4 separate regions of the Homo sapiens genome follow, and regions 1, 2 and 3 are each linked to region 4. The links are contacts of gene promoters, found by promoter capture Hi-C in blood cells and fetal thymus (Javierre and others, 2016). All regions are on one chromosome and are shown on one strand. The core of a region is centred on a gene start or on the middle of the fragment in contact, and the rest is flanking DNA. Distances in the headings are between cores, read along the strand shown. Region 1 holds the start of KCNJ10 (potassium inwardly rectifying channel subfamily J member 10). Region 2 holds the start of ATP1A4 (ATPase Na+/K+ transporting subunit alpha 4). Region 3 overlaps KCNJ9 (potassium inwardly rectifying channel subfamily J member 9). Region 4 holds the start of PEX19 (peroxisomal biogenesis factor 19).

Region 1 (6,659 bases), core at 3,368-5,867, 210 kb after region 4:
CTATGTAAATGACAAAGGCTCAAGGGGCAAGACACAGAAAGAGAACATAAGGCTGAACCTTGAGTGTTAAAAGAAGTAGCTGTAGCTTTGGGTGTATAGGGGCAGTGGAAGAAGATAAGGCTGGAATGGCACCAGGTCCAGGTTATAATAGGCCTTCTCTTCCAGGGAAAGGAACTCGGACTTTACTTATAGATAGTTGGCAGTTACTGAAGGTTTTAAAACTTGGAAGTGGTACGGTCAGATGTGTGTTTCAGAGAGATGTACTTTACTGGTGCTTAATTACTTTCAAATAAAGAAATTCATAATCCAAAGAATTATTAGAGTGGAGGAAGACTGGAGGCAGGGAGAGTAGTTAGAAGGCTGCTGCAGTAGCCCTGGTGTATTAGGCCATTCTTGCATTGCTATAATGAAATACCTGAGATAGGCCATGGTGGCTCAAGCCTGTAATCCAGCATTTTGGGAGGCTGAGGTGGGAGGACTGCTTGAGCTCACAAGTTCAAGACCATCCTGATCTACATAGCGATTCTTCGTCTCTACTGAAAGTTAAAAAAAAAAAAAAATAGCTGGGTGTAATGGTGAACACCTGTAGTTCCAGCTACGTTTGAGGTTGAGGCAGGAAGACTACTTCAGCACAGGAGTTCAGGGTTGCAGTGAGCTGTGATCACACCACTGCACTCCAGCCTAGGGGACAGAGTGAAACCCTGTCTCAAAAAAAAAAAAAAGATTAAAAATTAAAAAAAAAAAAACCCAGAGAGTGGGTAATTTATAAAGAAAAAAGGTTTAATTGGCACACAGTTCTGCAGGATTTACAGGAAGCATGGTGCTGACATCTGCTCAGCTTCTCAGGAGACCTCAGGAAGCTTTTACTTGTGGTGGAAGGCAAAGCAGGAGCAGGCACATCACATGGCAAAAGCAGGAGCAAGAGAGAGTTGATGATGGGGGATGTTGCCATATACTTTTAAACACCCAGATCTCACGAGAACTCACTATCATGAAGATAGCACCAAGCCGCTGAGGGACCTGCCCCCATGATCAAAACACCTCCCACCAGGCCCATGTCCAGCATTGGCATTAAAATCCAGCATGAAATTTGAGCAGGATCAAAGATCCAAACTATTATTACCTGGTGAGAGGTAATGGTGTCCTAGACTACAGCAATGATAGTGGAATAGAGAGGAAGGGGACAATATTGAGGCTATTTAGAATACAGATGCATTGATTCAATAAGGGAGATGAGGTGAGGAAGATTGAAGAATCTAGGATGGCTGCCATGTTTCTGGTTGGGTGATGATAGTGTATCTACCATGGTAGAGAATAAATGGAGAGGAGCACTCTTGTGAGCAAGGTGACATGTTCGACTTTAAATATGTTGAGTTTGAAATGGATATCCGGGTGGGCTGGACATATTGACACATGGGTGGTAGTTGAAGCTAAATGGATGGATAACATTTTTGGAAAAATAATAAGTGCACAATAAATGTCTGTTAATGATCCATAAATCATTACAGTCCCTTTGCTTTCTCTTCTGTGGTGTTCTTCATGTTTATTTTGGAGTTCCACCAGAGCCTCCAAGCTAAGCTTGTCCAACCCACCGCCTGTGGGCTGCATGCAGCCCAGGACAGCTTTGAATGAGGCCCAACACAAATTTGTAAACTTTCTTAAAACATCATGAGGGTTTTTTTTGTGATTTTTTTTTTTTAAAGCTCATCAGCTACTGTTAGTGTTAGTGTATTTTATGTGTGGCCCAAGACAATTCTTCTTCTTCCAATGTGGCCCAGGGAAACCAAAAAATTGGACACCCCTGCCTAAGTCCTCTCTGTCTGTGAATGTCAAGACTGTGGCCCCCTTAAGGATCTTTTGGATGTCCTATTTTTTGAAACTTAAAGGTCTTATACCAGTCTTGCAGGCTGGCCCTCAGACCACCTCACCACAGCCCCTCATCCATATTGACTTAGGAAGAGAGGGCATTCGGAGTGTGAAGAAGAAAAACTGGAAGACTGTTTCTTTTTCTTTTTATTTTGTGTTTTGTTTTGTTTTGTTTTTGGAGACAGAGTCTAGCTCTGTCCCCCAGGCTGGAGTGCAGTGGCGTGATCTCGGCTCACTGCAACCTCTGCCTCCCAGGTTCAAGCGATTCACATGCCTCAGTCTCCCAAGTAGCTGGGATTACAGGCGCGTGCCACCAGGCCCGGCTAATTTTTGTATTTTTAGTAGAGATGGGTTTTTGCCATGTTGGCCAGGCTGGTCTCAAACTCCTGACCTCAGGTGATCCACCCACCTTGGCCTCCCAAAGTGCTGGGATTACAGGCATGAGCCACCTGGCCTGGCCTGTTTCTAGTACATTGTCTGGTTTCTATTTCTCTCCTCTCTATGAGTAGAGTTCTCAAAAGTGTAACCTATACTTGCTGACAGTTTCTCACTTTCTAGTGGTAACTTGTAATCTGGTTCCCACCTTGCTCACTCTTCTGAAATTGCTCTCAAATGTCACTAGAGACTTTGTCACTGCCAAACCCAATGCCTCTTCTCTCTGTACTTGTTGGCACTGTTAGAACCTCCTCCTTAACAGTCTCTCCTTCCTTAGCTCCATGACATCTCACTTTCTTTGTCTCCTTCCTGCCTGTCTGGTGGATTCTCTTTCACTCTTTGGGGGTCCTTCTTCTTCCCATCCCCTAAACATAGGTGTTCCTCACTCTCTGTGCCAGGCTCTCATTTCTCTGTGCAGTCTTTGTTGGGATCTACCCTGTTCTCATAGCTTCAACTCACACTGCCCTGGCAGCAATGACCTCCTTTCTCTCTCTGGTTCTGACCCCTCTCCACAGCTTCCAGCTCTGAACTCATCACTTCCTCTTCCCCCACCTCAGTCTCCTCACCAGGTGTGATCCCCCCCAGGCTCCCCTATGCCCGTGAATGACCTCGCAGTTCTGATCACCTGACTTGAGACTCTAGTATGATCTCTGAAGCTTCCCTCTTTTGCTCAACATGTCAAGTTGGCTTCAAACTTTTTTCATTTTCTTTTGATTTTTCTGTACTCCAATTCATTTTCTGTGTTCCACTTTTCACCATTGCCACGCTGATTTGGGCTGTCATCTCTTCATGCTTATATTATTGCAATTATTTTCTATCGTCTACTTGCCTACTATATCCACTTGGTTCAAACTATTTTGTCACCTCCCGATTAATTTTCCTAAAATGCCATAGCTTTCTCCTACTCCATCCTTCCCAAGAACCTTCAATTGCTCTCCGTAGCCTACAGAAACTCTGGCCTGACCACAAATCAGCACAACTCTGTGTTTCTTCCGGATGTTCCCCTTAACACAAACACTGCCTATGGTGCCTAACCTTTAGTCCCGTCCTTCCAGCTTCTCCAATGAGGCTATTTGAATGGACATTTACTTATCTTATGGCTTTTAGTGGTTAAACTAAGCTACATTCCTAGTTTCTTTCCTTTTTTTACCTGAATTTATAGCAATTCAATATGGTAACACTGGTTATTGATTAGCAGTTAAATGTTTATGATGATCAGAAATGAGGAAATAATTATATTCTTTTTAAATAAATGCTGGGGGTGGGGGTGAATTAAAACCTCTCAACACATAGATTCAGAAAATTAAAGAAATCTTTGGTGATGAAAGGGTTGAGAACCATCACCCTGCACTCTAATCTAGTAAATGGGACAGTTTGATGCTGTTTCCCAAGTGAACTTGTATTTTCACGTCTCCCCAGGACTCTGCTACGTTGTTCCCTCTGCCTTAAATGCAACAGAGTCCTGGGGACCATCTCTCAGCACCTGAATCTTCTGCTTCCTTTGGGACCCTAATCAGATGTTACCTCTTTCCTCCCACATCTGCTAGGAGCCCTCTGAGTAGAATGACCTCTCCCTTTTACAGCCTTCAGTACCTCCCGCACTTCGCTGAGGGTTCCGGCCTTATCTTTCCTTACAGAGAAAGCCGCTGCAGGTGGGCACCGTGTGCTGCGCGTCTCTCACCCAGCACCGCACCGGGGACTTAGGAGACGGTGAACAACACGGGAATTGTGCCCAAAGATACAGTCCTGTGGCTCAGGGAGCCCAGGCCTACTCCGCCCCAATCTCACTTCCAGGCGCCGCCTTCGGCGCTGCCTGCAGGGCCACTGGGCCGGTCCTGAATTCATTTCCACTTCGTTAACTCGGTCCCAGTCCCGCCCCCCGGCTCCAGCTCTCGTAACCCATCGCTGACAGGACCGCCTCCCTTTTCTTCCTTCTCCCTTCCCCTGTCACCCTGCCAGCTCAGCTCCTATCGTTTCGCATATCGTCTCTTCATCTCTCTTTCTCCCCGGGTCTGTCTGGGTCTCTGTCTTTGGATATTTCTCTCTGCGCCTGCAGCTGTCTGGGTCTCCGCTTCCTTGCCCCGCACGCCCCGCCCCCTGCCCAAGACCCTCCAATCTCGGCGGCTCGAGCCTGGCGCTCCACTCTCCCATTGGTCTGTTCGGAGCCCCCCGCCCCCGCCTGCCCGGCCCCCCTCCGGGCCCCTCCATTCACACAAAGTTTGGCTCCGGCGCTGCGGAGGGAGGGGGCGGCCCGGCCCGGCCCAGCTCTGCCCCCGGCCGGCCCGACCCCGGCCCCGGCCCCCGGACAAGCCCTTATCTGATCCCAGCTCCGGGTTTAAGAGTCCTGGCCCGGCCCGTCGCACAGCTCTGCTCCTAACTCCTGCCCGCCCCGTCCGTCCATCTGTCCCGCTGCCCCGCGGCCCATCCAAGGGGCCACTCCACCTCGGACCCAAGGTAAGACCCTGGCCCTGATGAAGGAGTTCTGCCGCCCCGGCCGGGTCCTGTCCCCCTAACTCTCCAGAGACATCGGGGTCCCAGATCCTCAGTCCCTACCCTGCCTGGCCTCAGCGGTACCACCGTCTTGTTCCCCTGCCTCCCGCCTTGGGCAGTCCCAAATGGAGCCTCCTGGGAAGGGCTCCCCACGAGGAAACTAGCCAGGCTGGTCACCTCAGCCCTTTCATCTAAGGAAGGGGCTTTCCCGATGCCCCCTCCCACTGGGCAGACCAGCAGTTGCATCCCTGCTCCTCTAGTTAATACAGTGACAACCACACATAACCAGGCACCCCATACACAGGCACAACAGACAGTGCGCCCTCCTCCCCATATGGACAGGTTACTCCCATCCCCAGCCCCTCCCCCACTCCCCATACAGTGACAATCACATAGTGACACCCATGATCGCTAGTTCCCACATGGGGAGAAAAACAGATACTGGCAGCTTAAACCGGGGAGCCACCAAAGCCTGGTGTGCTCCAGACCCCTGCCCACCCAATCTCTTCCTTCTATTCTGAGTGGCTCCCATTTTAAGACATCCCTCCTCATGGCCCCTCACCCTCACCCCAGCTGTTTCGCACTGGGATTTCCAGAAGGAAAGGAGCAGGGCCACTTCTGCTAGAGTGAGAAGGGCAGATTGGGTTCTATAAACTCACCCTCCAGATGGAGACGCCCCTTCCCATTCCATTCCTCCTCTCATCAGAACTAACCCAGGGCACCTGTGTTAGGGAACAGATGAAGGATGGAACTTCCTGATTTGGGGGAGGAGAGCTGAACCCAGGAATGGGTAGAAGGACAACACTGGGAAAAAGTGAGGGTGGGTTCTGGTGTCTTGAAGTTTAATTCCAGTGAGTGCCCCAGGCAGGGTGAGGCAGATGGGGAAGAAGCTGGTGCAGATTTGGACCCCAAAGAGGCCAGTGCTTAAAGCCTGCTTCTGTTGCTTACCAATACAAATTCTGACTAAAGATGTCTGGCCAGTCTGCTCTTGCTGTGGTGTTTGAATTTTTTTTCTCCCCACTGGGACTGCTTTAGGCTGCCTGGGTGGGAGGGAGATAATGACAGGAGATTTAGGGCCCCCATGTGAGAGATGGCCTTGTTTAAGGGTGCTGAGGAGGGCCTGGAGTGGTTGTCATGAAATTAGCCCCAGGAGGGGTGGGCAGCCACCAGTGAGTTCAATTTAGTTTCATCCTGAAACTCTCTCCCTAATCTCCAAGGATTTTTGAACATATTCCTGGCATGATGGTGGGTACCATCCTGTGCCAAGTGGTAGGGCTTGTAAATTTCTCTGGGGGTAGACTGGGTATAGGGGACCAAGTTTGGAAGGAACCAGGCATCCTGACTCATAGCTGGTTCTTCAGGGAGGAAGAAACGAGGGAGGAGGGGGATGGAAGGCATCATGCCAGGGAGAGGGTCCAGGGCTGGATTGTGGAGGCAATAGGCACGGCCCAGGCAGTGCCAACTCCTTTCCCCGCTGCCTTCCCCCAGTCCTTTGGTGGTGGTGGCAAGGGAGGAAGGGAGGGAGAGGGTGTTGGGGGGTGATCTGGGCTGGTCCAGCCTCCCAAAGCCCTTGCCAACCTGGGTCCTGAAAGGAGCTGCTGTTTTCTGAGCCATCCCCCCACCCCCCACTCAGAGCCTGAGCAGCCAAGTTGTCTCAGCGGATATCAAATGGCAATGACTCCACCGATGGAGGGTGGGTGGGGAGTGGGAGTGGCAGGGGTAGCAGGGTTATGGTTCCAGCCCCTCTGTGGCTCTAATGCAGAACCCCTCTGCTATCCCTTACCCTGAGGAAAAAATAAATCCATCTTCCCCAACATCTGACCCACATCCAGTCTATGGGTGCATATGTTTGTGTGAGGGGATTAATG
Region 2 (5,912 bases), core at 2,464-4,963, 130 kb after region 4:
GCTGAGCAAAAGAGTGTCTGGGGCTAAGCAGAGATAGGGCTGGCTAGTAGTAGCTGAAGAGACTCACGTTGTCTTTGGTAGGCTCCTCATTGAAATATATCTGGATGCTGTAGGCCACAAAGCAGAGAATGGCCCCAGTCCATAGTAGGAGGGAGAAGCCTCCGAACAGTTGCTTACAGAATTTGACCCATTCTGGAGTGGTGGGGGGTGGGGTAACAGTATTGGGTCCACCTCGAGTCAGGATTTCCTTTGCCCTTTGGTGGCTATGGCCCTGTGCAGAGAAGAAATAGGGTTGGATAGAGAGCTGTGAAAAGAGGAACAGCCATAGCAAAAGGGAACCTGACATTTGGAGCCCCAGAATGGGTCTAGAGACTAAAGACGCTTTCAGAAGGTCAGTCTGGAAGTTCTTCCTGGATAAGGTGAGGTTTCAAAATTTGCATTAGAGGAGGGATGTCATTTAGCATGCTTACATAGGAAGGTTTTTGTTTATGGATTGATTCACAAACCTTTTTGAACTTGAGAACCTATCTCGGGTCCTAGGTGCTGAGGATACCAACATGAATAAGAATGGTCCCTACCCTTAAGGTGCTCCAGTGGGGAGATAAATACATACAGATAATTATAATGTGCAGGGCCAATGTCATGATGAAATATAATACTTAATGTTGATAACATATTAACACCACGCTTTGACTCTCCAACTTAGAGGGAATAAGATCTAGTGTTTGGTAGCACAATAGGGCAACTATAGTTAATAATTTATTATGGATATCAAAATAATTAGAGGAGTGGATTTGGAATGTTCCCATGCAAAGAAATGATAAATGTTTGAGGTTATGGGTATCCTAAATACCCTGATTTGATCATTACACATTGTATGCTTATATCAGAATAATACATGTATACCATAAATATGTACATCTACATATCCATTTTTTTTTTTGAGACAGAGTCTTGCTCTGTCACCTAGGCTGGAGTGCAGTGGCATGATCTCGGCTTACTGCAACCTCCATCTCCCAGGTTCAAGTGATTCTCCTGCATTCAAGTGATTCTCCTGCCTCAGCCTCCCAAGTAGCTGAGATTGCAGATGTGTGCCACTATGCCAGGATAATTTTTGTATTTTTAATACAGATGGGGTTTCACCATGTTGGCCAGGCTGGTCTCCAACTACTGACCTCAAGTGATCTGCCTGCCTTGGATTACAGGTGTGAGCCACGGCACCTGGCCCATAAATTTTTAAAAAACATAAATAGAAAAGAATACTAACAAAAAACATGAATGCATAGATTCTCATTCCACTCTTGTGCACAAGCTTATGTGCTTTTTCCTGTTAATGAAAATGATAGTAGAACCTGCCAATCACCACCAGCCACTCCCCAACCTCTGCCTGAAACACCCGAGGGGCCCCAAAACCCTTTCAGGGGGTCCACAAGGTCAATTTTCATAGTAATACTAAATCATTGTTTGCCTTTTTTTACTCTCATTTTCTTAAGAGTATATAGTGGAATTTTCTGAAGGCCAACTGGCATAACATCACAACAGATTTTATCCAGAAAATATTTGAGAATCCAGCTATCTTCTATTAAAAAGCAAGACATTGAAGAGGTTTGCAAAAATGTAAGATGCTGCTAATTTTTTTGTTTTGAAAAATACAGTTATTTGTCAAAACATATATGAATATATGATAACTTTATTTTTGTTATTTTTAAATGAATTGAGAAATACATTTTAAAACTCTCAATTTTAATTTCTAATATGGTAAATATAGACAGACTTAAGCCACATAAGCACAAGTTCTTTGCGGTCCTAGATAAATTCTAAGAGTGTAAAGGAGACCTAAGGACAAGACGTTTGACCAGCACTGCCCTAAAGCATTCTTATTCTCTTATCTAGTCCCACACTCTCTTTGAGGGTAGTTACCATTTGCAGCTTTTTCCAGGTAGTGTCCATGGAACGTGGCCAGGCAGAGGGTGAGGGGTGGGAACGTTGGACTTGAAGTTAGGGGGCTGGATTCCTAGTTCAGCTTTTGTCCTGGCAGCCTCACAGTCAGAGTTGGAGACTCTCTGCCTCCTCAGGGAGCTTCTTACTCACCTTTGTCAGGTCCACGGAGTACTTGGTGCTCAGCTCTTCCAAGGTTAATTTGTGATCATCCTGAGGGGACAGTAGAGGCATTGAGGGACAGGGGGTGGCCCAGGTCATTTCCAGGGAGAGGGGGAGAAACAGACTGGAGAATGTTAGTCCAAACTGAGACTGCTCCATTTTGTAAGCTCCCTGCAATTCTTTTTTTGAGATGGAGTCACTCTGTTGCCCAGGCTGGTGTACAGTGGTGCGATTTCGACTCACTGCAACCTCTGCCTCCCAACAGGTGTTTCTCCTGCCTCAGCCTCCCAAGCAGCTGGGATTACAGGGGCCCATCACCAGGACCAGCTAATTTTTGTATTTTTAGAGGCGGGGTTTCACCATGTTGGCCAGGCTTGTCTCAAACTCCTGACCTCAGGTGATCTGCCTGCCTCAGCCTCCCAAAGTGCTGGGATTACAGGTGTGAGCCACCACGCCCGGCCTAGCTCCCCACTATTTTACAGGCCTTGGTCAAAGTGAAACATTTCACGGGGGTTCGGGCCAGAGAAACAGCCTGCCTAACCACCTGACCACAGGGCAGACGAAGGCCCAATTAAAGACAAAGACCCCACTAAAGAAACATCCCTATCACATCCTGCTGGGCAAAGGTCCAGGGAATACCATGATTATATTCTGTGGAAACAAGGGCCAAAAATCACCTCATCATGAGAACATCTTATCGATATCCTGCCAGGCAGCAGGCCATACAGCCCAGACTCCTCCCATCCATCCCTATAAGTACCCAGCCTGTAAGTGGCAGTGGACTGTGGAATTAAGCTGATCCCCCACTTCCACAGGTGTCTGCAATATACCTGTGCTTGCTGTTGAGCTGCCCTGTCTCTCTGTGTGTATCTTTTTTTTTTTTTTTAACCCTCTCCTTCCCTCCAAAGCCTAACAGAGAAGAGATGTGGCTCTGGCCTGTGTGTTTCATTCTCAAGGTAAGATGTTAAAGATAGGTGGAGGAGTGTTTTCAGAGGGCAGCTGTCAGCGCCCACTTTGGGTGGCCTCACCATGACCACTTCCTTCTTCAGTTCCTCCATATTGCGCTTCTGTTTTTCCCTCTTCACCATTTTTTTCTTGATAAGCCCTTTTTTAGGTCTTCGTCTTGGACTCTGGTCATGGGGAGCCACTGTCCCTTTCTTCCCCCAAAGCCCCATAGCTATCCCCAGAAAGAGCTGCCCGAGCTCAACTGTGGGAAGAAAGCTGAGAGAGTGAGGCAAGGGGAAGGGAAGAGGGCGCGCGGGCAAGGGGGCCACGAGAAGAGAGTGGTGGGGAGAGAATGAGGGAGCAGAAAGAAAGAGGCAGGGAGGGAGGTGTTGGGTGGTGAAGGTGAGAGAGAGGAAGGGAAGTGAGAGAGGAGAGACTGAGCGGTCCTCCAGCCGTCCGCTGGGAAGAGGAAGAGTCAGGAGTGAGGGAAGAGGGAGGAGAGAAGCCTAGGGTGGAAGGATAAAAAGGTAGAGGTGAGGGAATGCAGTGAGGGCAGGAAACAAGAGGTGAAGCGTAACCAGGTGCCTCAGTGATGAAGATGCCGCAAGGCCCACAGGAAGGTGGGAAATGCAGTGAGAGTGAGGAGGCGGAGTGAGCTTCAAGGATCTGGGAACCCCCCAGTCCCAGGCCCTGTGGTTGCTGGGGCAATGACCCAGGTCTGGCATCACAAAGGCCTCCTGAAAGTTCTAACCAAGAATCCAGAAGTCTTGCCTTGGCGATGGTCCAGGTCTGCTGTCGCAAAGGCCTCATGAAGGTTTTAACCAAGAACCTAGAAGTCTCAGTCTTTGGGTTTGAGGACGATTGGAGCAGGCCCTGCTACAGAAAGAGTTTCAGTCTGAGGGCAGAACTAGAACAAAGTTCTTGTGTGGTCCTGCAGACTTTGGAGGCTTAGAGGTATGCCAAATAGATGACTCAAAAATAAAGCGGGTATTCGGCCGGGCGCGGTGGCTCATGCCTGTAATCCCAGCACTTTGGGAGGCTGAGATCGAGACCTTCGTGGCCAGTATGGTGAAACCCCATCTCTACTAAAAATACAAAATTTAGCCAGGTGTGGTGGTGGGCACCTGTAATCCCAGCTGCTCGGGAGGCTGAGGCAGGAGAAACATCTGAATCCAGAAGGCAGAGGTTGCAGTGAATTGAGATTGCATCACTGCACTCCAGCCTCGGTGACAGAGTGACTCCATCTCAGACAAACAAACAAACAAACAAACAAACAAACAAACAAACAAAAAACCATAGCAGGGAGCTTACAAAATGGTGCAGTTGCAGTTTGGACTAATATTCTCCCGTCTGTTTTTGAGACTCCATCTCAAAAAAAAAAAAAAAGCAGGTACTCTGTGTGTGTTTTTTAGCAAGGCACACTTTTCCACTAACATTGGGTTTGATCTTTTAATTTTAGGAGATCAGCTAGCAGAATAGATCAGATCTTGGGCTCTGGAACCAGTCCTGGATTTCAATCCCAACTCCTCCACTTGTCAGCTGTGTGGCTTTGAGCAAGTTACCTAACCTCTGTACCTCTCTTTTCTTATTTTTAAAAGAGGATACCTTCTACCTTAAGTGAGGTGCTCTACAAAAAGCACTATGTGACATATATAGTATGTGCTCAATAGGTAGCTTGAATTCAGTAGTAGTTTTATTTGTGGATTAATATGCAGCTCTTCTCAGTGAGGGTAAAAATATGCTTTTCCATGTGATAGCGTTGCATTTTCTCATTTTAAAATGATGTACTTACCTCTTCCATTGACCTTCTCTGGTGTCTCAGTAAGTGCTTTGACTATATTAACTGTATATATGTTTTGCATGTCCATAGGATTCTACCTCCTTCCAAGAATAATCTGAAGCATCTATACTTTTCTGTCAACCATTATATATATTTTTCAATTATGCACGTCACATAGATTTTCCCATTCTGTTGTTTGATATTTGTTTATTTACTTTTTGAGACAGGATCTCACTTTGTTGCCCAGGCTGGAGTGTAATGGTGCGATTATGGCTTACTCCAGCCTCAACCTCCCAGGTCCAAGTGATCCTCCCACCTCAGCCTCCCAAGTAGCTGGGACCACAGGCATGTGCCACCATGCCCGGCTAATTTTTTTTATTTTATTTTAGTAAAGACGGGGTGCCCCTGTGTTGCCCAGGCTGGTCTCAAACTCCTGGGCTCAAGCAATCCTTGGCCTTGGCCTCCTAAAATGTTGGGATTACATAAGTGAGACACCAAGCCTGGCCTGATATTTATTTAATTGCATTTTGGTTGGGCATGCTTTTTAAAAATATGACTGTATCTGGAAACATTCATCTTGGTGCTGATGCAATCCTCCTTGAATATTCAGAAATAGAAATGCTCCCTTCCCAGCTGGGATAAATGATCGTCTATTTCTTTAACAGATTGGATTTTTCTTCTCTATTAAAAATGTTTAAGATAAAAATTGAAAGCCCCACCTTCCCTCCCTCCAAACTCAGATTCTCCCCACTGCTGAAGTTACTGCTGGTAACAATGTGCTGCATGTCCTTCCAGTCTTTTTTCTATGTTTATACAAATAGATATCTAAAAGGAGGTATTTTTCAACTTTTAAACAATCATTCAACTCTCTACCAACCTGTCATGTACATAAAGCTTCTTTTTTTCAGTGCTGTGAGGCTTCCATATTCTGTATTGACCATGCTCTATTCAATCATTCCCATTACTGATGGATTTATGAGATATTTTCCATTTTTTTAACCATTAATAAAATTGCTAGAGTGTCATTCTTGCACATAGATATCATCAGGCCCTTGAGCTTCTATTTCTGTAGAATCAGTTCCTGTTG
Region 3 (6,301 bases), core at 2,301-4,800, 190 kb after region 4:
ACACACCCTCTCAAGGCAGAAAGTCAAGGCCACAAGTGACCTATCTAGTTGCCCCTTAGGTTTTGTAGCCAAGGAACTTGAGGCCCAAAGAGGTTAAGTGATTTGCACAAAGTCACCCAATAACTCAGTGGCTGATGTGGGACTCAAACCCAGAGTTCCTCACCCAGGCCAGTGCTCATCTTATCATATTAAGACCCCTCCTGGGAGAAGAAATGTCCTTAAGTTGTCCAGTCCACTTTCCATTCCCAAGAACGAAGAAGACTGTTGGGTTGAATAGCCTCTACTCCTGGACAGTACAGGACCCAGATCTGGGAAAGAGAGTAGAGTTAGGGAAGGAGTTAGACCATGTGACATTCTCACTCTCTTAAGTTTCTTTGTCTTCTGAGAAGAAAGAGCCGCTTTTCTCAGTATTTCAAACAGAGGTCAGTCTCAAACATAAGGGTGAGTAGGCGATGGGCTGGTTCTATGAAATTCTACAAGTATTTATTGAGCGCCTGTGCTGTGCCCAGTACTGCCCTTGGCACCACTGAGTTACAGAAGAAATAATACAACATGCGATCTTTGCCCTCTGGGAGCTCACAGTTTATTTAGGGAGATAGGCTATACACAGGAAACAGTAACAAGGGCTGCCAGCTCCCAGCCCTCCCTCACTCCAGCTGTTCTCTCCAGTTCTTCCAGATGTCCTCCAGGTGTCTGCTGCCCCCCCAGGGCCCCGAGGCCGCCAGGCCCCAACCTCACCCCCACGCATGACGGTGCATGAGGGGCAGGAGCTGGCACTGGGCTGCCTGGCGAGGACAAGCACACAGAAGCACACACACCTGGCAGTGTCCTTTGGGCGATCTGTGCCCGAGGCACCAGTTGGGCGGTCAACTCTGCAGGAAGTGGTGGGAATCCGGTCAGACTTGGCCGTGGAGGCTGGAGCTCCCTATGCTGAGCGATTGGCTGCAGGGGAGCTTCGTCTGGGCAAGGAAGGGACCGATCGGTACCGCATGGTAGTAGGGGGTGCCCAGGCAGGGGACGCAGGCACCTACCACTGCACTGCCGCTGAGTGGATTCAGGATCCTGATGGCAGCTGGGCCCAGATTGCAGAGAAAAGGGCCGTCCTGGCCCACGTGGATGTGCAGACGCTGTGTAAGTGCCACTTATACATCCCACTGTGGGAGCTGGGAGGGACAGTATCCTGGTGGGCACTGTGGCCACAGGGGGTACCAGATAGCCATCATCTGACTCCAAGGAACTCATCTTCCACAGAGTGAGCAGCCTTGCTAGCATTTCTCTCCCCCGGCCCTTGATGGGTTTTCTCTGCTCAGAAATTGGGTATAGAGATAGGAGGCCCATGCTGAGGGGTGAGATTCAAGCCCCTAAATAGAAAGATGGTCATACCTAGTGAGGGGGAGACAGGAGGTTTTGAAGTTGCTGCTGTCAAGTAGGAAACAGGAAGTTGGGGAATCGGGTGCCTCTGTGTCCCCTCCTGCCTCCATGACACCTCTTCCCCTACCTGTGTTTCAGCCAGCCAGCTGGCAGTGACAGTGGGGCCTGGTGAACGTCGGATCGGCCCAGGGGAGCCCTTGGAACTGCTGTGCAATGTGTCAGGGGCACTTCCCCCAGCAGGCCGTCATGCTGCATACTCTGTAGGTTGGGAGATGGCACCTGCGGGGGCACCTGGGCCCGGCCGCCTGGTAGCCCAGCTGGACACAGAGGGTGTGGGCAGCCTGGGCCCTGGCTATGAGGGCCGACACATTGCCATGGAGAAGGTGGCATCCAGAACATACCGGCTACGGCTAGAGGCTGCCAGGCCTGGTGATGCGGGCACCTACCGCTGCCTCGCCAAAGCCTATGTTCGAGGGTCTGGGACCCGGCTTCGTGAAGCAGCCAGTGCCCGTTCCCGGCCTCTCCCTGTACATGTGCGGGAGGAAGGTGAGAGGGGGCTGGGCCCTGGACGGGGTTCGAGGATTGTCAACCCCTTTTCCTTCTGTTTCCATGACCCCTCCCTCTCCGTCAGCTGTTTGCAGGCCACAGCCTCACGCTCCTCTTCTACCAAGATTGTGGGAATACCCTGAGTTTCCTGGGGCGGTGCTTGGCGGCAGCCCTAACCCCATGCTCCCTGGCCCTGCACCCTCTGACCCCATGTCCTTTGTTCTGCAGGTGTGGTGCTGGAGGCTGTGGCATGGCTAGCAGGAGGCACAGTGTACCGCGGGGAGACTGCCTCCCTGCTGTGCAACATCTCTGTGCGGGGTGGCCCCCCAGGACTGCGGCTGGCCGCCAGCTGGTGGGTGGAGCGACCAGAGGACGGAGAGCTCAGCTCTGTCCCTGCCCAGCTGGTGGGTGGCGTAGGCCAGGATGGTGTGGCAGAGCTGGGAGTCCGGCCTGGAGGAGGCCCTGTCAGCGTAGAGCTGGTGGGGCCCCGAAGCCATCGGCTGAGACTACACAGCTTGGGGCCCGAGGATGAAGGCGTGTACCACTGTGCCCCCAGCGCCTGGGTGCAGCATGCCGACTACAGCTGGTACCAGGCGGGCAGTGCCCGCTCAGGGCCTGTTACAGTCTACCCCTACATGCATGGTGAGTGACACCCCCTCCACCCTCCTCACTCTGCCTTCCTCCTGGCCTCTGCCACTGGCCTTCCCTTCCCATCTTCTGACCCTCCTGCTACTATCTCTCTCCTCCACATTATGTCACATGAAGTCTCAAAAAATCCAACTTCCAGCCCTGCAGTGCCCACCTGCACGGGGTCCTCTGTGGTTGATGCTGACTTGCATGCTGAGGGGGCAGGCTGTGGGCAGGGATGGGGGTGTCTGTGAATGGAGAAGGTGGGTTCAGAGAACTTGATGGGGAAAGCGCAGAGGCAAGTGTATGGGTGGAGGATGATGGCATCCTCTCTGAACAGTCATCCTCTCTCCCCCAGCCCTGGACACCCTATTTGTGCCTCTGCTGGTGGGTACAGGGGTGGCCCTAGTCACTGGTGCCACTGTCCTTGGTACCATCACTTGCTGCTTCATGAAGAGGCTTCGAAAACGGTGATCCCTTACTCCCCAGGTGAGGGAAAAGAACCCCCCAACCTTGTTTTCATTGGGCTTCCCACCCCCAAGTCCTGAACCAAGCTGCTCCCTCCCAGGCCCCACCTGGAGGAGGAGTAGGCAGCTCAGATCCACAGGGCCCTGTTAAGGGGTGGAGGCCGCGAGGGAGCCCCACTCAGGGCTCTCTGTCCTTAGCCCACACCGGGCACCCTTTTCAGGTCTTGCAGGTGTCGACTGTCTTCCGGCCCAGCTCCAAGCCCTCCTCTGGTTGCCTGGACACCCTCTCCCTCTGTCCACTCTTCCTTTAATTTATTTGACCTCCCACTACCCAGAATGGGAGACGTGCCTCCCCTTCCCCACTCCTTCCCTCCCAAGCCCCTCCCTCTGGCCTTCTGTTCTTGATCTCTTAGGGATCCTATAGGGAGGCCATTTCCTGTCCTGGAATTAGTTTTTCTAAAATGTGAATAAACTTGTTTTATAAAAAGCAGGCTTGGCTGTGTCTTCCCTACCATGAGACTGTAAAACGCTCAGGGTGCATAGTAGGGAGGTGGTTGGGGATTGACAACCTATTCTGGATGACCCAGGCCTCTCTTCCCACCACAAACACCATCTGGCCTCCATGGGCCATGCCACCCACCCCAGGAGGGGACACCTGGGTTCCATCTGCAGCCTGAACTGTCGGGGCTGAGACAACTCCTGATTGGACTCCTACTTGGGGAGGGAAGCATAGAAAAGGAGGGTAGGTTCCAGCTGCCTGTGGTCACCCCCGCACCAGCTTCTCCCATGTTAAAGGGCATGGGCCTCCAGGGGCAGTGCCTTTTCTGAGCTTCCCAGACTTTCCCCAACTCTTCCCACGTCTCATTCTCCTGGTCAGGCTAGTCTTGGACCTGACTCCTCCCACTAGGCCCTGGGGCTGAAATTGTTGTTCCTTCTGACCCATAGCAGCAGAATAGAAGCCTCAGAACACAACTGATACTCAGGCTGGGACAACAGGCAGTCAGGGGAGGGCCTGTGTGTCCACAGAGCCATTGCACCCACATGTACTCGCTGTACCTGCATATACCCTCTACCCGCATATACCCACTACACCTGCATATACCCGCTTCACCTGCCTGTACCTACCCTGGGGTCTCCTCCCTCCCACCCTTCAGCTTCACCCCTCCTCCAGTGCCCCAGGAGTTTCATGAATTTTCTTGCCTAAGGATTCTCTGATCCTAAAATTCTTACCTGCACGGCACCTTAAGAGGCATCTGGCAGGCCTCCTTCAGTTGTTATTTAAACATTTATTGAGCATTACGAGTTTGCTGTCATTTTTACAGATGAGGAAACTGAGGCCCAGATATGCGATTTGCCCAGAGTCATAGAGCTAATTAGCAAGTGTCAGGAGTAGGACCTAGGTCTCCTGACTTGTTGCACTGTACAGTGGTGCCCTGAGTGGTGACAGTGGCGAGGAGAGGTGTGGCAGGGTCTCAGTGACTTCAGCAGGCAGGAGGGGCCTTTCCAGACTGAGTTTCTCTGCTTGTTCAGCTGCAATGGGTTGGCTCCTGTGTGAGTGCGTGTGTGTGGATACCAAGTAGCCCACCCGCTCTTGTCCAGACCCCCCTGTTTTACTGAAACCCAAATGAATCCCCATTCTCCATCCCAACATCTGTTCTTAGGGGACCAGTCAATGCCAGGCTTCAGGAATCTCATCTTTGATGACAGGGCCCCAGTGGCCCTGTGACCTGAGGCAAAGATATCCGTGTTTTGACTGAAAGGAAGGGACTGGGACTTGGGTCCTCTCTGAGTGAACCCCAGCTGTCTGGGCTGCTTCCATGGCCCCCTTTCTTGCTTCCAGAGGACCCATAGGGCCCTGGCTATGCCCATAGGACCCTGGCTGTGCCCCATAGGACCCTATCTGCCCAGCCTGGAACAGAGAAGACTGGAGTGCTTTCCCCAGGGGGCTTATGAAAGGGCAGGAGTGGGATGTGGCCAGGGCCAAGGGAGGAGGTCCTTGCTGGGCCAGTGCTGCTGTGTGGGAGACAGGCGCTGTCCCAGGGCAGGCTCTCCTGGGCCTATGCTTTTCTCCAGGCCAGCTTCAGGTCCCTTCCACCCCTCTGCCTCTCTCAACTTGCAGTTGTTCTCCCTCACTATCCAGGAAGCTGCCGCTGGTGACTGGGATGTGATCAGGAAGCAGGTGGAGGTGGGGTGAGAATATGCGTCTTTGGGACCCCCTGGCCCAATTGGGCTGACAGCAGGCTGCAGACACATCCAGATGTTCTAACTCCTATCGCTTCTCTCCGATTTTCTCCCACATTCAATCTTGCCTCCAGTCCTACAAGGGGTTCTGTCCTTTGCCCCTAAAACTCTTCCTGCTCCACCTCCCCCCGACCTCCCCAGGAGCCCCCTCAAGTCCTTCTGATGGCTTCATCTCTCTGTCGGGCCTGCTCAGCTTCCAGACACCCCCTCCACTTGTCACTGCCCTGTTTCCATTGATGGTTGAGTTTCTGGGCCCAAAGTTAAACTCTTCAGCCTGGGCTTCGGGTCCCTTTCCCACACATAAAACCCCACCCTTCACATTTCTCTGTCTGCTCCTGTGAGGATCCTCAGCTTCTTCTCAGCTTCTCTTCATCTTCCTCTCAGCTACTCCTCAGTTTCTATGCCCCATGTCCTGAAACGACTTCCAAGTATTCACTTAGAGCACAGGTTCTCAAAGTGTGGTCCTCAGTCCAGCAACAGCAGCATGACCTGGGGACTTCTTAGGAATGCATGGTTTTGGTCCCCACCTCTTGGGTCAGAAACCCTTGGAGTGGAGCCCAAAAATCTGTGTTTTACCAAGCCCTCCAGGTGATTCCAACGCACACTGGAGATTTCTAACTCCTGACTTACATATTCCCTATGCCTTACACTGGCCCCAGCCTTCTGATCACCCACACTCCCCTACCCTCCACGGGACTGCACAGGTTGTCAGTTTGAATTATCCCTCGTTCAGTCACCACAGGTAGATTCCTCTGTTTTCCCAGGTGCCCCTTATTTTGAGGACAGGAACCAGGTTTTTGAATGTCCACTCCACATGGCACCCAATCAGTGATGTGAATGACTGTGCCCCAAGGACACACTGCTTTCCTAGGGGCTCCCTGTTTCCCAGCTCTAGTGAACCCACTTTCTAGATCTCTCTCCTGGCCCTTCCTCCCCAGAACCTCTCTCTCTCTCTTCCTGCCTGTGCCTGATACCTGTAAGATCTCACTCCACTGTAAGAAAATAGCTATCCCTGGTTTTCCTTTCCCAGGCCCCTCTCCAGGCCCCAG
Region 4 (6,552 bases), core at 3,438-5,937:
CAGGAGTTCGAGACCTGCCTGGCCAACATGGCAACACCCCGTCTCTAATAAAAATATAAAAATTAGCCTGGCATGGTAGCATGCGCCTATAGTCCCAGCTGCTCAGGAGGCTGAGGCATGAGAATCGCTTGAACCTAGGAGGTGGAGGTTGCATTCAACTGAGATCATACCACTTCATTCCAGCCTGGGTGACAGAGCAAGACTCTGTCTCAAAAAAAAAAAAAAGGAAAACTCTGTGATGGACATTTGTTTAGTAAATCCCTTCAGTATTTATCCCTCCTTTCCCCACAGCAGCTTTCTTTCCTGTCAACTAGAAAGGAGCAGGATGTAATAAATACATTTTGGTGTGACTAGGCCACACCAACTCTTAATCATCTCCCATTTTCCTTAGACATTTAAATTTCAAGGCAGGTACCCTCTGTGTACTCAGAAATTTGAAGAAGTTATTTGGTTTTCCAAAATGCACACTGCGGGTTATTGATTTGTTCTTTACAACTATTGTTCTCATATTTCTCACACTAAATAAATCTCTATGAGAGCTTCTTGACTTGGCCATTTATTTCTTGGACACTCTCATGTTCTTGTTCACCCATGCAGGCACCCCACCAAAGTACATATCTTCCTTCCAGTAATAATTTTTAATTACAAAATAAACATCCACTATTGGAAAAAAAAAAAAAAAGCTAGCCGGGCATGGTGGTGGGTGCCTGTAATCCCAGCTACTCTGGAGGCTGAGGCAGAGGATTGCTTGAACCCGGGAGGCGGAGGTTGCAGTAAGCTGAGATCGCGCCACCGCACTCCAGCCTGGGCGACAGAGTGAGACTCCATCTCAAAAAAAAAGAAAGAAAAAAAGAAGCACATGTTTTTCATAGGGTATATATGAGGACCTAAACTGCTGTGAAAATGATAGAAAGCAAGTAGCTCCCTTATTCTGTTTTTGATTGCAGCCTTTTATCTTTTGCTAATTATAGCAATATTTATTGAGCACCTGCCATGTGACTGTCACTGTTCTAGATATTTTACATGTAATATACAGATAAAAGAATAGTACTTTATATATATTACAATGATACAATGATTACATTAACAATACAATATTTTGCTTGTCATATGCTAAGAATAATTGGGTAGAGTGACATTACTGTGCCTTCGATTAAAATAAGTACTTTTTTGCGTGTTAAATTCATGTTTTCAATAAATAATAAATGCATATAGTTGAAAAATCAGTAAATATAAAAAGCTATTCTGTGACAAATCTTTCCACCCTTTCATCAGCCACCCAGTTCCTATCACCTTCCCCTAAACAGGTAACCACTGTTACCAGCTTTCTTACATCCTTCCAGAAATTTTATATATATATATATATACACACACACACATATACATGCACATGCTGATATCACTATGCCATTCTCTATCTCCTTTTATACACAAATGAAACCACACTATTTAACAATTTTGTACCTTTGTTTTTTCATTTAACATTTTTGGTATTTTCTCGTATCAATATATTAGGGAGCTTCACTTTGTTTTTTACTTCTCTTCATACTATACGTTGTATTTTTTAGCTTTATCTTAAGAGTTGCTTTTTTAAACAGCATCCCTAAACTAAGGCTGCCTTCTCAACAGAGTACATACTACTAATGAGATTGTGCCATTGCACTCCACCCTGGGGTACAAGAGCGAGACTTCGTCTCAAAAAAAAAAAAAATGTACATATTAGCCGGGAGTGGTGGCTCACGCCTGTAATCCCACCACTTTGGGAGGCCAAGGCAGGCAGATCACCTGAGGTCAGGAGTTCGAGAACAGCCTGGCCAACACGGTGAAACCCTGTTTCTACGAAAAATACAAAAATTAGCTGGGTAGGGTGGCAGGCACCTGTAATCCCAGCTACTCAGGAGGCTGAGGCAGGAGAATTGCTTGAACCCGGGAGGCGGAGGTTGCAGTGAACTGAGATCACACCATTGCACTCCAGCCTAGGGGACAAGAGCAAGACTTTGTCTTAAAAAAAAAAAAAGGCCGGGCGTGGTGGCTCACGCCTGTAATCCCAGCACTTTGGGAGGCCAAGGCAGGCGGAACACGAGGTCAGGAGATCGAGACCATCCTGGCTAACATGGTGAAACCCTGTCTCTACTAAAAATACAAGATGTGAAATAATTGTGACTCCCAGGCAAGAATTAGAATTTGTTCGATAAACTGTGGAGAACCATTAAATCCTTAAGGAACAGAGTGATATGAAAGCGTTATAAAATACTGTTATTCAACAGTATTCGCTATACATTAGAAGGGCAGAAGGAGCAGTCAGTAGGTCAGTAAATACTGAGATGAGATGTTAGGAATATTAGGAGTAAAAATAGAAAAGCAGAAAGAAGTTTAAGAAATAATGCAAAGAAAGAATCATGCTTGTTTTTGACTCCATTTTAATTATCATCTATTATCTTTTAATTAACATGCTTATATTACATTAGTTTAAAGCCAATTGACCAAGTGTAGTGGCTCACATCTATAATCCCAGTACTTTGGGAGGCCAAGGTGGGCATATCACTTGAGGTCAGGAGTTAAAGACCAGCCTGGCCAATATGGTGAAACACTGTCTCTACTAAAAATACAAAAATTAGTTGGGCATGGTGGCGCGAGCCTGCAGACCCAGCTACTCAGGTGGCTGAGACAGGAGAATCACTTGAACCCGGGAGGTGGAGGCTGCAGTGAGCCAAAATTGCACCACTGCACTCCAGCCTGGGCAACAGTGAAACTCTGTCTCAAAAAATAAAACCAATAGAGATGCCTGTTGATAGACAAGTTTTCTTTTTTTGACGTGCTTGTTACAACTATAGCCATATTGGAGATACACGTGTAAGCAGTTTGAATGAGAAAGTCTGGAATAAATTATGTTGCAGGTGTTGGAAAACAGGTTTATCAGGAAAGGATTTGATTACAGAAGTTTAGAATTGTAAAGGACTTCAAAAGTGATTAGTGGCAGAATTGGGGCTGGAATTTAGGCTTTCTAACTCACAGTTCATAATATTTTGATCCCAAAACACACTACTTGTGGTTGGAAGAAAACAGGTTTTGCAGATATGATTTTACAAGTCTGTGCCCTATCTGTGAAGGACATAGTAAGTGCTTGATCTGGTGCTTGATGCAGTACTCAAATGTGTGTTTAGGAAGCTAAGAATGAAAGTGATGAGGTGACTTAACACAGGATTTTTTTTCATTTAAAATTCTTACCTTGTATCATACTGTGTGTATATCTCATCATACCTCCGGCTCACCCCCACTTAGCTACCTTACAGCAGGGGGTGGTCCTGATTTATCTCTCTGTCCTCACTGTGCCCAGAACAAGACCTTAATAATAGGTGCTCTCTAAGTGCGAAAACAGATTTGTATGTGAAACAGTTGCTACATTCTGACATCTGAATAGAACAATTCCAAAGGAGGAAAGGGACGTCTAGAGTTACCTCTATCTGAGCATTCCCCGTGTTCACTCAGTTGGAGGTTGGGTTCTGTGTGGAGAAAAGGAGATTGTTCAGGGAAAGTAAGTCTATTACTACTGCATTCGAATTGCCCTGCTCAGTCCAAGGTACCAGAGGCTCTCTTAATAACATGGAGTTCTAAGTTCCTGGCCGGCCCTGTGTCCTTTAATCAAACAGTTCTAATAGATAATAGGAAATGAGAGATGCCACTAGATTGGGCAGACAGATGTGCCTGATTAGGGACTGCGAGAGCAAAGAGTGGCCAATGAATGCCTACTAAGTTTTAAACCCTAGCCTGGGAGTTGGGCTTTACAGCAGTGAAGACAACAGACGAAAATCTTTGCGTTCATGGTGTTTAAATTCTGCAGGGTGGGGAGCGGAGAATAAAAAAGTACGGTAGATAGTATGTCAGATACTGTTCAGTGTTAGGAAGAAAAGGAACGGGAATGGCCAAGGAAAGCGTTTCAGAAAAGATAATATTTGAGGGAAACAATGAAGTGAAGCCGGGCGCAGTGGCTCACGCCTGTAATCCCAGCACTTCGGGAGGCCGAGGTGGGCGGATCAGCTGAGGTCCGGAGTTCGAGACCAGCCTGGCCAACCAGCCTGGCCAACATGTTAAAACCCCGTCTCTACAAAAATTAGTCGGACGTGGTGTCGCGCGCCTGTCATCCCAGCTACACGGGAGGCTGAGGCAGGAAGAATCGCTTGAACCCGGGAGGCCAAGGCTGCAGTGAGCCGAGATGGCGCCACTGCATTCCAGCGTAGGCGACAGAGCAAGATTCCTTCTCAAAAAAAAATAAAAAAAAAAAAATGAAGTGAGAGAAAGTAGTATGTTATGTGCCATAATTGTCATATCAATTATATATGTTTAGATTCTGGTTATTTGTAGGCAGTTTGTCTCAATCTGGCCTACTCACAGCTCAGGAAAAAATAATGAAAGAGCTTCGCCAGGTAATTTGGGAAGTTGAAAGAAAGGAGTCCGGGCCTCTAAAACCAGACAGAAAATAACCCTATCTTATCCCTAATTCTGTTTCACAGGAGAAAAGGGAAAAATACCCAAAACACAAACACTCAAAGCTTCCTGGCCCTTTAAAAATGGCGGTTCCGCACTGGTCAACAATACCATTGGTTACCCGAGGCAGAAGAGGGCGGGAGCGAAGGGGTGGAGGGCGTGTCGGCACCGAGGAGGTCCCGCCTCCTACGGCAAGTCGGAGGTAGCAAGATGGCCGCCGCTGAGGAAGGCTGTAGTGTCGGGGCCGAAGCGGACAGGGAATTGGAGGAGCTTCTGGAAAGTAAGAGCCCATAGTGGGAAAGGCCCGAAGAGGGCACGTGTGAGGACCCATTCTGGGGGTTAAGTGAACCTGAGATATTAGGGACGGGCAGGAGAGGCTCTCCAAAGGTTAAATGGGGGCGGAGAGTCTGACCCCCGAGCCCCCCAAAAATCTCTGGGTCATCCTGCCCCACCCCGGCGACTGGAGCTGGGGAGCTCACCTGGGGTCCCTCAGTGGTCCGGATGGTGGATGTTTCCGCAGGACGGCGTTTCATGATACCTCTTCAAACTCCTCTTTAGGTTACTGAGTTCTTAAAGTTCGACTTCAGCAGCAGTAGCAGCAGCAGCAGCATTTGGTTCTTGCTGGGTAGCGAACTACGCACTCACTGATTGCTTACATTAACTCCTAGCAAGCTCGTGGCCGGTCCTTGTGTGCCTCGTCCTGTCTTCCTTAACACGAAAGACACTTTTCTCCTCCTAGTCCTTTTCTCTTTCTCTCGTTAGGCCCCTTAACAGTTCTTTCATCTTGTCAGTAGCTCAAGCGGACTCCTTTCCCTTATTTTGAGAAACTGAGGATGTGGCGATTTCAGGGGAAAGCAGTTCACCCTCCTGAAAGACGGGGGATGTTTTCTTAGCATTACTCTCCACTCCCCTGTTGACTTCCTGCCCAGAGTAGGGCCAGTGCTCTCTCCCTAGGCCTGGCGAACAGAATGGTGGTGAGGACACAGGCTTTTCAGGGCAGAGGTGAATTTGTAATCGCTTGCTCAATCACGGAGATGTGGGCAGGCAGAAAAATGAACAGAAACCCTGAGGAGTGCCAAGTGACTGTGTAAATTAGTGTACGGTTATCTGCAGAGATCAGGCCAAAGGGAGCTCTAGAAGGTTGTTGGGGAGCACTAAACTGGAGAATAAGAGAAGATAGTTTAATGCCGTACCATGGAGTCTGGTATGTAGTCCCTCAGTCTGTGCTGGTACCAGTACCAACAGGAAGCTGGGTGGGATGTCCTGTGCTTTCTCACCAAGTTATTCCTTTTAGAGCTCCAGAGTGAGTTCAGAGGGATGAGGACATCTGTGTTCTCTACTACTGTTGGGTATTTGTATGGGATTTCTAGGGAATCGTTAGGGTGTGGCAAGGGAGACACTATAGATGGAGATGTCTCTGCAGAACTTTTTAATCCTCTCCTCCCAGCTCTGAGATGGACATTTGTTCCACCTTAAGGGATTTCTTTGCCTTTGCTCACAATAAATTAGGTAATCCAGAAGGAAGTAGGAGGCTCATTGAGGGTGGTCTGGGGAGGTGGGGGACTCAAGGAGGAAAATTGAGGAAAGTTGGCAATTTGAAAAATCATATTCCTAATGCTTTGCCCAGAAACCACCCAGCCTTGCTTGCATTCTCATCTGTCGCCAACACACACACCATGTCTCTTGTCTCTGAAGGTGCTCTTGATGATTTCGATAAAGCCAAACCCTCCCCAGCACCCCCTTCTACCACCACGGCCCCTGATGCTTCGGGGCCCCAGAAGAGATCGCCAGGAGACACTGCCAAAGTATAAATTCCACCCCCTTAAGGGATGGGGAGGGGATGGGCATGCAGCCCTGAGCAGAGGTTGGGCAGGCCCCTATGGGCCAGAGGGGAATGTGGGAGGGTACCTTGGCCTCACATTGGTGAGTGCTCTTGCCAGCCTCAGTCCTTGTGAAATAAGGACTTGAGGTTGAGTGGGGGAATCTCAGAGTTCCTTGAAAAAATAGTAGGTTTAAATGGTTGGATTGGTATGCCATCCCATACCCTCCTTCAATGACTAGATACCT

The links. The method cuts DNA at HindIII sites, captures the fragments that hold promoters and counts their contacts. A CHiCAGO score of 5 or more calls a contact.
Region 1: the fragment with the promoter of KCNJ10 here is called in contact with the fragment with the promoter of PEX19 in region 4 in 2 of 17 cell types (fetal thymus and erythroblasts); the score reaches 5.2 in fetal thymus.
Region 2: the fragment with the promoter of ATP1A4 here is called in contact with the fragment with the promoter of PEX19 in region 4 in 1 of 17 cell types (megakaryocytes); the score reaches 5.0 in megakaryocytes.
Region 3: a contact is called between a fragment that was not itself captured here and the fragment with the promoter of PEX19 in region 4, in 12 of 17 cell types (naive CD4 T cells, naive CD8 T cells, endothelial precursors and 9 more). The highest score is 9.1, in naive CD4 T cells.

Annotation. Positions count from the first base shown.
Region 1 is chr1:160,068,118-160,074,776 of GRCh38, reverse strand. It overlaps KCNJ10 (potassium inwardly rectifying channel subfamily J member 10), which reads left to right and starts at 4,617. Exons shown (of 2, transcript NM_002241.5): 1 at 4,617-4,755. RefSeq lists enhancers at 2,529-2,888, 5,066-5,235, a silencer at 4,426-4,655 and a cis regulatory region at 5,150. The HindIII fragment of the contact is 4,127 bases long and covers 2,960-6,659 here.
Region 2 is chr1:160,149,404-160,155,315 of GRCh38, reverse strand. It overlaps ATP1A4 (ATPase Na+/K+ transporting subunit alpha 4), which reads right to left and starts at 3,713. Exons shown (of 22, transcript NM_144699.4): 1 at 3,129-3,713; 2 at 2,092-2,151; 3 at 68-271. The coding sequence starts at 3,275. The HindIII fragment of the contact is 4,407 bases long and covers 1,315-5,721 here.
Region 3 is chr1:160,088,540-160,094,840 of GRCh38, reverse strand. KCNJ9 (potassium inwardly rectifying channel subfamily J member 9) reads right to left here. Exons shown (of 3, transcript NM_004983.3): 3 at 4,278-6,301. IGSF8 (immunoglobulin superfamily member 8) reads left to right here. Exons shown (of 7, transcript NM_052868.6): 3 at 670-1,131; 4 at 1,510-1,917; 5 at 2,146-2,559; 6 at 2,903-3,033; 7 at 3,233-3,498. The coding sequence ends at 3,018. Among named protein-coding and RNA genes, the nearest start is that of IGSF8, 6.9 kb to the left of the region's middle. The HindIII fragment of the contact is 8,135 bases long and covers 1-6,301 here.
Region 4 is chr1:160,283,268-160,289,819 of GRCh38, reverse strand. It overlaps PEX19 (peroxisomal biogenesis factor 19), which reads left to right and starts at 4,687. Exons shown (of 8, transcript NM_002857.4): 1 at 4,687-4,765; 2 at 6,181-6,290. The coding sequence starts at 4,696. LOC107985219 (a long non-coding RNA gene) reads right to left here and starts at 5,455. Exons shown (of 3, transcript XR_001738265.2): 1 at 4,965-5,455; 2 at 3,459-3,503. COPA (coat protein complex I subunit alpha) reads left to right here. Exons shown (of 33, transcript NM_004371.4): 33 at 1-1,226. The HindIII fragment of the contact is 4,290 bases long and covers 4,553-6,552 here.